Linked DNA regions of Homo sapiens: regions 1, 2 and 4 are each linked to region 3. The links are contacts of gene promoters, found by promoter capture Hi-C in human tissues and cell types (Jung and others, 2019). All regions are on one chromosome and are shown on one strand. The core of a region is centred on a gene start or on the middle of the fragment in contact, and the rest is flanking DNA. Distances in the headings are between cores, read along the strand shown. Region 1 has its middle 250 kb from the start of COPS8-DT. Region 2 overlaps COPS8-DT (COPS8 divergent transcript). Region 3 holds the start of ACKR3 (atypical chemokine receptor 3). Region 4 has its middle 190 kb from the start of COPS8-DT.

Region 1 (2,876 bases), core at 97-2,596, 260 kb before region 3:
CTGTCTGGGGTGCTGGCAGAGAGAAGCTGCTAATGGCATCTCTGTCTGGGAACATGGAGCCCTTGGTTTAGGACTTGGTGTTTAAGGGGGCATTTGTCAACCTACTGACTCATGGATCCCTGATACTAGCCAATGAAGAGATGGAGAGGACTGGGATTCCCCATCTAGTGATTCCTGCTGGTCTTAGAGCAGCAGTGGACGGGGCTCTTGCAAATCATTTGGCCCATAATTTCCATTTTATAGACAAAGAAACAGAGGTTCACAGCAGAGAGCGACTTGCCCACTGATACACATGCATGGTATAAAACTACTAGTGAAAATCTAAAGCAATTACAGGCTATATGCAGAGGGGTAGAGACTCTGGCATGCATCCTTCCATGGCCTCTGTTCACCGTGTACCCTTGGCCATCCTCAGCTCTGAAATTCCGTGACATTTGGCTCAGAATATATCTATCTCCCTACTCTTCTGACTTAGTCCTGTGTTCCTAACAGAAGAAATGAAATTCAAGTCCACAACTCCAAGACTGGAGAATTCTTTCTGAGGTTTCTGTCCTGGGGCCAGCCCTCCCCTTGTCTCTAGAACCCAGTGACTGGCAGAAAAGACAAAAATATAAATAGAAACAGTGACAATCACAGTCATTAATAACAATTAATGATAATAATAATAATTGCAATTCTCACCTACTTAGTACCTACTACGTGCCAGAGCCAGTGACTTTGAGACTGGTTATTCTATCCTCATTTCACAAATGAAAACACTGGTGCTCAGAGAGGTTAAGTGACCAGCCCCAAGTCACACTGACGGGATGGTGAGGATTTGGTCAGGTGGGAGTGATAAAGGACATTCTCTTCCCTGCTCTGAAATGGCCCATCAGGCAGAGCAGGTGCAGGAACAGGAGCAGTTCCTGCTGTACCTGTTTCAGGATTAAAGTGTAGCCTGAGACTTCAGGACACAGGAGCCTTTGGCAGAGCTGGCTGGAGGTGGTCTCTCCCTGGCTTTCAGAGATGGGCTCCCCTTCTTCCAGCCCCACAGGGAGCTTCCAATCCCACCATGAGGAGTAGGCTTCTCTTTCTAAAATGGCCCACAAAGCTCCAGGTCATCTGAGCAGCCCACCCCAGCACCCTCCTTCCTGCACATGTACCAGATGCCCCCACCTGCTCCCAGGCCTGCTTCTCCCTCACTGGGGGTCTTCAGAACAATCTGAGATGGCCCCAACCTGCTACCACTCCCACCCTTCACAGCCCACTTGGGCAGCCCCTCATCAGGAAGCTCTGGATGTGCCGCTTGGGTTAGGGGCTCTCCTTGACATGCCCCTGGATGGAGCACAGATCCCATGCAGTGAATCTGCAGCTGACCACAGCCTCTCCCCAGAGATGGTGTCTCCTAGAAGGCCCCTCCTAAGAGGGGCCATGTCTTCTTAATACCTGCATCCTTAACCCTGGCATCTTCCGGAATAACCCAGACCCTCAACCCATGTTTATTGAATTAAATAAAGAAATGAAGACAGACAGATTGGTTCGAGCGGTGTTTCTCAGCCTTTTATACTCCGTGCCCTTTTTAGTAAACATAGAAATCAGGTGCAGCCTCACCCAGCCTCACTGAAGACAGTGGGGTGCTGCACAGTTCCCCTCCCCACGCGTGCACAAGTATCTGCAGCTGTCAGCCAAGCCGTTTCTCTCAAGCTTAGTACCTGGAATCTATGTCCCCAGCACAATGTGTAACTTATCTCATTATCCAAACATTACACACAACACACTTTCTCAAAATGCATTTTGCTCCTCACCTTCAAAACTGGGATCCACTGCCTTAGGGGCCTTTGAAAACTCACTGAGTTATGGAGTTGAGTTGCAGTGACAGGTAACAATGGCTTGACTAAAGTCATGGTGATGGGAATGAAATAAGGAAACAGAATCAAGGAACACATCAGAGGAAGGACAAACAAAACTTGGCACATTTATCTCAGACTGTGCAACAGGCAGAGCCTAAGAGGGAAGCTGAGGCTTCTCACTCACCTCTCCCAGTCCCTTCCCTGATGGAGAGCCAGGCGTCATCAGCCACTATACATGGCAAGGCGAGGGAACAGAAGAGACCCTCAGCAGTAATCCATGGAGAGGGAAGAAAGAAGGGTGAAGTCCAGTCGACTCTGGGGGACACCAACCTTCAAGTCCCCCATGAGACAGCTGGCCACGCTTTGGGAGAGAGGCAGGAATCTCTCTGCATTTTTAGTCTAAGAAGAGAAGAGATATAGGAAAGCTGACCCTGTCCATAAAGGCTTGAGAATCTCACAAGTCAAATGACGATGTCAAGTCAAGTGGTACAAGAGACCTAGACTTCCTGGGGGCCATGAGAAGCCTGTGAGATGACGTGAATCTGAACTGGAAGAGCAGCCCTGCATTCTCTGGGCTCTAGTGGAGTCTGCAAGTTCAGTGGAGGGCCTTAGTATGATGGAAAGCACGTTTTTCTCACCAACAGAGAATGTGAGTGCAATAAAATGAGATCACAAGCAATCTTCAAGACTTCACCATTTTCTTCCATTTGTGGCAATAGAGAACTTCTAAAAATATCCATTTCACATAAGCAATGTAAAAATAACAACTTAAAAACAGTCATGCCAATGGATGGAGATTTTCCTGGGAAAATAAATCCCATGTGCTGAAATACAAATAAATAAATGAATAAATATGATTAATTCTGTGAAAGCACTATGGTTCTCCAGCCTCCAGGAATCACTGGCCTGTTGGGGTAGCCACCCCATAGGCATGGCTTCTTTCTTCCTCTATGGGTTTTTAATGGTCATTCACAAACTTTTCTGGGCGGTCTTTGCACTATGCCGAGTTCTAGAGGTGCAGAGCGGAATGAAACAGAGGCCTGTCCT
Region 2 (3,034 bases), core at 292-2,791, 340 kb before region 3:
CCTCCTGGGGATGCAGACAGGGAGCAAGACGCAGGTAACCCCTGCCCACAGGCTCCGTGAACCTCAGATCTGTTCTCAATCCAAGAAACACAATTCCACTTCCCCTTCACCTCTCTTACTCCGGGAAACTTTGCACTACCTTTTCAATGGGCTTAAAAGAGTGGAGGAAAAATTGTCTTCAGACAACTTTAAACAGTTTTAAAACAGAAAATTTACTTACAGGGACTCCCTAGATGTTAGAAGAAAGCTCCAGGTAGCTGCAGGTAGCTAGGAAGTAGGAAGAGCCCACCTCTTCTTGGAATGGGGAAGAACACACATGAACTCTTATCTCATGAAATCCAATAGTCAACTACAACATGGTTTGTGTGAGTGAAAAGACCCCAGAATAAGACCACCTGGGTGAGCCTGTGCCTGGTGGTCTCAAAGCATCCCCCTCCTCCCATCCACCCCTGCTCTGCCCTGTATCATGGGGGGTCTGGCCTCTGCAGGCTATGAGCCCCGGGTTCCTGTGTCTCTGGCTTCTGACTGGGTTGGACCAATGGGAAGCCTGGAGGGACATGGGTGTGTACAGGAGTCTGGGTGGGCTTCTTGACTCTGTTTGTTGGGCTGTCTTGCCTGGAGGCTCTTTCCTTCTACAAGCCAGCTCCTGCCACAGAGACCCACCCTGGTTCTAGCTTCCCTTCAGTGAGTCTGATTCCTGGGCTCTGATAACTGCCTCCTTCCTTGTGCATCTGAGAGGTGGTAGCCACTTCCTGATGCTGTGGACACCAGGGTTGCCTCAATGTCCCTTGTCTGACGTTTTGGCTCTTCTACCATCTAGGAAGTCCCTGTAATTAAATTTTCTGTCTTATAAAACTTAGGATGACTGTTTATCCTCACTGGGTCCTGACTTAGTCACTTACTACTGTGTGGTTGTGGTCAAGCTTCTTTCTCCTGCTATGTTCAGTTTCCTCATCTGGAAAGCGGGATAATAATGGGTTCTTCCTTAGAGAACTCACCCCAGAGTGAGTTAAATAAGATAATACTCAGAGTTTGTTACTTGGAACTCACACAGTAAGTGGTAGATTTTGGAGTCTGTACCAGAGGGTCCTGAGGTGTGGGCTGAGGGTGATCTTTGGTGGTGCCTGTTCACTGGATTCAACAACTGCCAATCACAGAGTGAGGAAGTTGTTCACTTTTCAGGTGGTTCTGTTTTTTTCTGTCTCTCTTCTTCTGGATACAATAAAAGCTGCTCTCTGTTCCTAGTATGTCTTTAGAACTTGGAGTCTCCATGACCACGGGAGAAAGAGCAGGTCTCAGACTGAGGAAGTAGGACCCAACAGCATTGTTCTGTTTACATGGAATTTGCTTTTACAGCCAAATTCTACTGATGGCAAATGATACAGTTTTCCATTTCTGGAGGTGATAAAAAGTTTTTTTAATAATGAATTCATTTAAGTTTTTTGTTTTTTTTTAAAAAAAGATCGACTTGGAAAAACAGAAGTAAAAGAGTGCAGTTGGGAGGAGCTTGATGACCTGAGCTTAGAAGGCCTTTCCTGCAGACGTGCTCTGGGGCTAGTGGGTTGAATCAGGACACAGAACAACAAAGACAGTTTCTGCTTTCAAGGAGCGCATGGTTCTCAGCCAAATTCAACAGGAATAATATGACAGAACATAATTAAATAGCAAGTAATTTGTTACAGATGCAAATTCTGCAAAAGTTCAAAGACGCATGGGCCAACGGGGTCAGGAGAAGGCGGGATGGAGGAGGCGACTTAACAGGAGAGATTCCCGGTGGTGGGCACAGGTGCAGAGAAACGGGGACCTGGATTAGGGGAGCAAAGGAGAGCTAGCGTGACGGTGTGGCAAAAATGGGTTTTGAGTTTCTGGAGTAGAGATCCAGGTCGGTGTCAGAGGTGCTGGGGGTTCTGGGAAGGAAAATGATGACAAGTTGACGACAGGAAACGTGGAGTTCTGCATCATTAAGCGTCAGTTTCACGGGATGCTGTAGTCCTGGCAGAATCGTTTTTGGCTGTGGTGTGCAGGAGGGGTCTGCGGCTGAGCCACTGCAGAAGGGCTGGCCAGCTGGGAGGCTGGGAGGCAGATGCTGTAACCCTGGTGTGACCCTGTCCCTGCAGAGAGAGAGCCAGGGAAGGGGCCAGGTGAGCAGGGCCAGGGGGCAGCAGCACCATCATCCAGGGCACTCAGGGGTTAAAGCCTCATCTGGGGACACAGTGAGGAGCTGATCCCGGAAGGAAGAGGCTACGTAGTTCATATCAGACCATGCACACACACACACACACACACACACACACACACACACACACACCAGAGATCCAACTCTTCCTACAGTTTCTCACCAAGAAAGGTCATGGCTGGGTTGAAGAAAGTGAGGCAGGAGTGTTTTCCTTGCAAGGAACATTTGTGTGAAGAGGTCTCTCCCAAGGGTGCTCATATCAGGCAAAAGGTTCTGTCTGTGGGATCCCTGATCCATCTGATCTCCATCCTGCAGGAGCCTTGCTCTTCCTCATGGAGACGCGTTTGCATCTAGAGGGAAAATTGTGAGTAAAAGCCATGACTACAAAATGCACATGTGGATTCCACCGTGGAAAAGTGGGGAGCCCGGGGCCGGGCACAGCATCCGAAATGAAGGTGTGTCACAGGACAGTCGCATGCTCAGGCTGCCTCAACAGAGAAATAGGTGAAGGAGAGCATTTCTCTTTCCACAACTGACAAGAATTCTGTCTTAACGTGGACTGTTTTTGTCGTTGTTGTTGTTGTTTTTTATTTGAGACGGAATCTCACTGCGACACTCAGGCTGGAGTGCAATGGCACGATCTCAGCTCACTGCAACCTCTGCTTCACTTCCCAGGTTCAAGCAATTCTCCTGCCTCAGCCTCCCAAGTAGCTGGGATTACAGGTGTGCACCACCACATCTGGCTAATTTTTGTATTTTTAGTAGAGATGGGGTTTCACCGCATTGACCAGGCTAGTTTCAAACTCCTGATCTCAAGTGATCTGCCCACCTCAGCCTCCCAAAATACTGGAATTACAG
Region 3 (2,841 bases), core at 166-2,665:
GCTAGAGCTCCCATGTGCAACTTTGCTTTAGAAAAGACTTTCCATCTGGGGAAAGCTCATATTCTGATGAAAGAAGGGCAAGCAGTTTATCCATTTAAAATCTATGGAAAGTTAAAGCACAGAAACCAGCAGCCTCCACTTTCTTTGCTAGGCGTGCCTAGCTGATGTCCACATTTTTCCTGGAATAAATAAAGGGACACTAAAAGCAGCATCTGCCTTTAAAAAAGAAAAGAACAAAGTTACCATGTTGAGACTTTGCAGACTGAAGTTTCAGGGGATGTCACTGCACCAAATACATTCAAAGGGCTGTAAACCATTTAAGGAGGCTCTCTCCCACTTTTGAAACACTAAGTAATCCTGTTGTGAGCAAAAGGAAAGAAAGAAAGAAAGAAAGAGGAAGAGAGAAAGAGAGACAGCCAGTCTGACTTTTACAACTTCTCATTCTCCCTGGAAGTTACAAGTCTTGGCTAACCACCCATCCCTGACCTCACTCCAAAGTTCTCTCAGTCACTCCTTGAATCTTTGCACATGCCAACAAAATTGAACAAAATCCACATTTTACCTGAAGAGTATATTTAAATTGCAAAATAGTAGATTTGTGTGTGTGCTTCCCCCAACCCCAATTGAAGTTGGACTTAACACCTTCTAAGAGAACAATACTCAAATTAGATTAGCAAGCGTGCCATCAAGAGAAGAGAAGACCGGGCTGTGTTTAACATTCACGTTTATAGCTTCCGGACTTACAGACTCTGGTAAATCCCCCAAAGTACTGAATTCAAATACATCTTGGACTCACAAAGATTCTCAGCAGTTTTCTGCTCCATTTAAGGATGCCTCTTAATAAAGTGTTCATCATTCTGGAATTACGTATTTACTGCCAATTTTATCTGTTTCCAAACTGATATACTAGAAGCAAAACAGGTAAACAGTGGGTGCCAAGCTAATCCCCATGCCAAATTGGTCAGGCAGAATGGATAGTCTGTGTTCTTGCAAAGTTCCCCTGCTTACTGGAGCTTAAATAGCCACACAGCAAATAAACACCAGATTCCTAAATACACATGGAAATTTCCTTCTGCAAGTGACTTAAGAAAACTGCCCTTTGCTTTCTGAAGAGAAAGGTGAAGCCCTCCGAATTAGCAAAAGCACTTTGCAATGCAGCTGCGTGCAGCCTGGGTTTTCAGAAACCAGACCCGCAGACTCAAAAGCACCCATCTGAGCGATTTTAAAGAAGGCCTTTGAAAAGACCACTTGGCTTAAGAGCAGAAGCCGTGCCTTCTTTCCGAGCAGAGCTGCTGCCCGAGCACCGTTTCCTTACCTCCGGGCTGGCTGGGCTGGCTGGGCTGGCTGGGCTCGCTCGCCTTCCTGGCTGTGCTGTGCGCTGGCTCCCTTAGTGCTGAGCACTTTGCAACAACTGTGAGCTCTGCTGGCTGCAGACTTGCATTATATACACTGCAGAAAGGAGCCTCTAGCCTCTAGATGGCAGCTTTGTAACCCACATCTCTCTCTCCCCCGTGCCACCCCCATCCCACAGGCAGACACACACACACACACACCCCCCTCTTGTAAACCTCACTAGTCTGTTGTTTCCTGCACAAGTGTACTCTTGGGAAACCCCAGCCTTCTTTCATTTGCAAAATCTGGTGAAGCCACAAAGTCCAAACCCCACGGGGGGAAAACGTCAGCCAAAGACAAACTGCAAAGAAACCCTAGTGCTTGGCAAAATCATCAAATATTTATCTGGTCTCAGGTATATCTTGAATAATCCCATTAACACCAAGAGCTCCTGTGAATGCCTCTTCGCTCTAGGGAGGACTTTGTTCCCAAGACAAATTACTCTGAACTTCTGAACTTCGATGTTGATTTACTAAGCCTGGGTTTTCCTTGTTAATTCCTCCAAAACAGAAGTAACAGTTTTGGTATGACCAATGAATCGATGCCACACCGTATATCCCCAAAGTGGAGAAAAGAGTCTTTATAATAGATTATACTTGAATACTTTTATTTGTAAAGGACTTTAAGTACAAAATCCTTGAGACTCTAATCAAGATAGTATTCTACAGTGTCTGCCCAGTGCCAGACACGCATTAGGAAGATAATAAATGCCTTTTGATAATGTCTTTTTCTGAGATGAGTCTGGCAAACACTTTACTACAATTATTGCAATCTACATTCTTATTTGGATGCGTATTGCTAAAGTTCCCCCCACGGAGGAATTCAACCTAAAAATGTGATCCAGGTGATACTCATCTCCAATGCCCCATTTACAAAAATCGTCCATAAGATAGGGACCCAAAGGCCACCCGCCAGCCCATCCCATGTGCAATGCTCTGGCTTTCGTATTGCTTTCTGATCTCCTGGAGTTCTTAAAGAGCGGCTCAAGTGGAGTGTATGAAGGCACCAGCTGTATTCACGCCTTCTCCAGAGCTAAAACTTTTCGAGATTCTTTTTATACTTCTACTAAAAATAACAGCAGACGCTCGGTCCCAGCGCTGAATCTGGGGGACTGGGAGGTCAAAGTCTCACGTGGCTAGAAAGTCTCCGTGTGGAGAAAGCCCTTAACGAAAGAAATATTTTGTTTAGCTAAAAGCTTCACATTTTTCTCCTGAACTGGCTGCCCAGCGGGAGGCGAGGTGCACACCTGCTCTCCGGGGGCCTCCGGAGGGGTCGCCCTGGGGCCGGCCTTTCCCAGCCCGAGCGCAGCGTCCCGCCACCGCCTCTGCAGGGCGGCGCAATCACTCTTCGTGTCACATCGGCACCAAGGACATCTCCAGGCTCCCCAGAGACGCTGGAAAGGAAAACTGCCAGCGGCTGCGTCTACCCACACCCAAGATCTAGGCGAGA
Region 4 (3,091 bases), core at 517-3,016, 330 kb before region 3:
ACTATCATTGAGCATACAGAGATTCCCTATATTTTACTTTTACAACTTAAGAAACAACATACATCCTTGTATGTAAACATTTGTGCACATCTCTGATCTTAGCTGAGGATAATTTACTTAAAGTGGAATTATAATTTAGAGGGTCTGACTATTTTCCAGTATTCAGATGTGCTCTAGATAATCTGTACTGCTTTACATTCTGCCAGCAGTAAAGCAGTGTTGACTTCCCCGAACACTCGTCAATAAGAGGCCTTGTCATTTTAATTAAATCTTTGACAATGTAGTTTGTGTAAAATGGTGTTTCTTTGTCGTAATTTGCATTTCTTTGATTGCTAGTATAGGTGAAACTTCTTTTTTTTTTTTTTTTTTTTTATTTATTTTTTTTGAGACGGAGTCTCACTCTGTCGCCCAGGCTGGAGTGCAGTGGCGCCATCTTGGCTCACTGCAAGCTCCGCCTCCCGGGTTCACACCATTCTCCTGCCTCAGCCTCCCGAGTAGCTGGGACTACAGGCGCCCGCCACCACGCCCGGCTAGTTTTTTGTATTTTTAGTAGAGGCGGGGTTTCACTGTGTTAGCCAGGATGGTCTCGATCTCCTGACCTCATCATCCGCCCGCCTCTGCCTCCCAAAGTGCTGGGATTACAGGCGTGAGCCACCGCGCCCGGCCCGAAACTTCTTAATAATTATTTTTTTAATTACAAAGGTAATATATGATACTTGTAAAATTTACAAATATTAAAATCTTTGAACTGGAATATTCAGCTTTTAAGTAAACATTTTCTATTGTCTCACGGTCGGTCCTAAATTAATCAGAGTTTAATACCATGCGGCACCCTCTTTCAGGTATCTTTTACCCCAGAATATATTATCTGAGTTCTTCCTTCTAAATCTGAGTTGATTAAGCCCTTTCCCCCTAAACAGAGACAAATTTCTCCCCAAGAGGAATGCAGGTGCCAGTTGTCAACGTATTGGTTATGTCATTCAACTCTGTTTTCAGTTTCTACTCTGAATATTATTTCTTCTCAAAGGATTGCTGTCACTCACACAGTTGAAATTTCTGTCCTCATCCTGTTCTCCATGTAGACATATTAAGACTTAAATTTTCAGAAGAATTACTGTGTAGTATTTTATAAATATGGCAGAATTTACCCATTTTCCCAGGTATGGACATTTTGGTTTTTTTCTAATATTCGTTTTTATAAATAACGCTTTAATAAAAGTCCTGATATGTGAGATTTTCTGTGGACTATCTCCTGAATTAGTAAAATGTAGCATTATAGGGTATTGCCATCATCAGCTTCACCAGAAGAGACAAACTGTCTTCCAATAAATTGTCCCATTTACACGTCCCCCTCCTCCTTCCCAAACCTCTAAACACAGGGCAGAAGAGTCATCTTTCCTCCACATCTTTACCAACATTGGCCATTGCCCTGTTCTTTCTCCTACAAATCTTAAAGCTTTACTTTTTAACCTAAATATACATGGACCAGCTTCTGAGCCCTCAAAGCCGTATCCTTGGTCTCTGTTTATCTCGTGTGTTGATGTCATCCTGTTCTAATTACTGTAATCTTATAAAGCCGGGATAAATGGTCAGGCAGTCTCCCCAGCCAACATCCTTCTTTAGGACATAGCTTCACTATCGTTAGACCTTTACCCTTTCGTAAGGATTTTATGATAAAGATTAATGTCAAGTTTTATTAACAACCCTGCAGGGTTTTGACTAGAATTGTATGGACTTTATCATAAGTTAAATCAGAGAGACTTGATATTGTTTTAAGGTTGGCTTCCCACTTGTAAATCCAGAACAAATTTCCACTTATTTAGTCATTTTCAAATTGTGTTATAATTTTCTCAATAAAAAATCAGGCTTGCATCATGTTAGATGCATTCCCAGATACTTGTAAGTTTTGCTTTATGGTTGGCAGAAACCTTTATAATTACATTTTCTAATTCATTGTTGCTGGAAATAATATCTGTGTTTCTTTCTGATTCTTCTCTCTGTATATTTTATCTCATTTGGAATTTGTTTAAGGCAGGGATTCTTTTCTTTGACTGATACTTTCTAGAATTTTAATATAATATTTATCAATTAAAACAATGGTAATAGACAACTTTTTTGTTCAAAAAACAAAACAATGCTTCTAATGTTTCACCACCCAAACGAGATGATGTCTAATTTTGTTGAGCCTTTTTAAAATCAAGTTAAGATTATTTGCTTATTGGTTTACTAAGAGTTATTTGATCACATATGAGTATTAAATTTAATTGAATTTTTTTCCTGTATCTACTGAGATGACCATATGTTTTCTTCATAAATCTGTCAACAGAGTGAATTATGTTAATAGATTTTCACATATTAAGTTATCAGTGCTCCTCATTCTTTTTGGTCAAAATGAAATACTTTCTCTTTCTTTCTTTTGTATCTTTTGTTTTCTGTTCAGTGTTTTTTCAGAATGTGATAGTTTCAGAGCTATATAATTTGTCCTTACTTCTCATAGTGACTAATTTTATAAGAACATGGATAGATAGCATTACATTTTCTTTTCAAAACTTCAGGAACAAAATTTTAAAATGAAATAATTCTACCAAAGCTACATCAAAACAGTGGAGGAAAGACTAGATGATTTGATGTTGGTACTACTTCTTCCTTTTGTTTATAAACCCAGGAATTTTAGTTTCTGTATATTAGACAGTATTTTAAAATTTTACTTCCCAATCTTTTCCTTCAAATGATTGACTTCACAGCATTGCATAAGTAGAATTATCGAGTTGTTTACCCTCAGTTCCACATGTCAGTGCTCACCGCCAGCCCTGTCATGATACCTTCCCTTTGTCTGAAGTCTTCATTTGCAGTCATTTCAAATATGGCTTACTAGTTTTTTCAGAAGGGATTCATTGACCTTTTTATTATGATTTTTTGTTGAATTTATACATGAAGAAAAACTTCACTGGGTACAAACATTAGGACTCTCATGTTCTCCTAAAGCTACCGTGAAATTTGCTTCTGCGATAGAGCTGTGTCGAGGACAAGTCTAAGGTCCATGTTGCTCTGCATTTTTCCTCCTTTAGGCCATGAGCCTTTTCTTCTGCCT

The links. Contacts are between HindIII fragments. The study calls those that stand out against the background at their distance.
Region 1: a contact is called between a fragment that was not itself captured here and the fragment with the promoter of ACKR3 in region 3, in 2 of the 25 tissues and cell types used here (mesenchymal stem cells and mesendoderm cells).
Region 2: a contact is called between a fragment that was not itself captured here and the fragment with the promoter of ACKR3 in region 3, in 3 of the 25 tissues and cell types used here (mesendoderm cells, spleen and stomach).
Region 4: a contact is called between a fragment that was not itself captured here and the fragment with the promoter of ACKR3 in region 3, in 1 of the 25 tissues and cell types used here (pancreas).

What each region holds. Positions count from the first base shown.
Region 1 is chr2:236,830,679-236,833,554 of GRCh38, reverse strand. No RefSeq gene overlaps it. Among named protein-coding and RNA genes, the nearest start is that of COPS8-DT, 250 kb to the left of the region's middle. The HindIII fragment of the contact is 4,086 bases long and covers 1-2,876 here.
Region 2 is chr2:236,911,456-236,914,489 of GRCh38, reverse strand. The region is part of intron 2 of COPS8-DT (COPS8 divergent transcript); the gene reads left to right. Among named protein-coding and RNA genes, the nearest start is that of COPS8-DT, 170 kb to the left of the region's middle. The HindIII fragment of the contact is 5,661 bases long and covers 1-3,034 here.
Region 3 is chr2:236,568,399-236,571,239 of GRCh38, reverse strand. ACKR3 (atypical chemokine receptor 3) reads right to left here and starts at 1,415. Exons shown (of 2, transcript NM_020311.3): 1 at 1,316-1,415. RefSeq lists an enhancer at 2,179-2,841. The HindIII fragment of the contact is 7,550 bases long and covers 1-2,841 here.
Region 4 is chr2:236,895,399-236,898,489 of GRCh38, reverse strand. No RefSeq gene overlaps it. Among named protein-coding and RNA genes, the nearest start is that of COPS8-DT, 190 kb to the left of the region's middle. The HindIII fragment of the contact is 4,359 bases long and covers 1-3,091 here.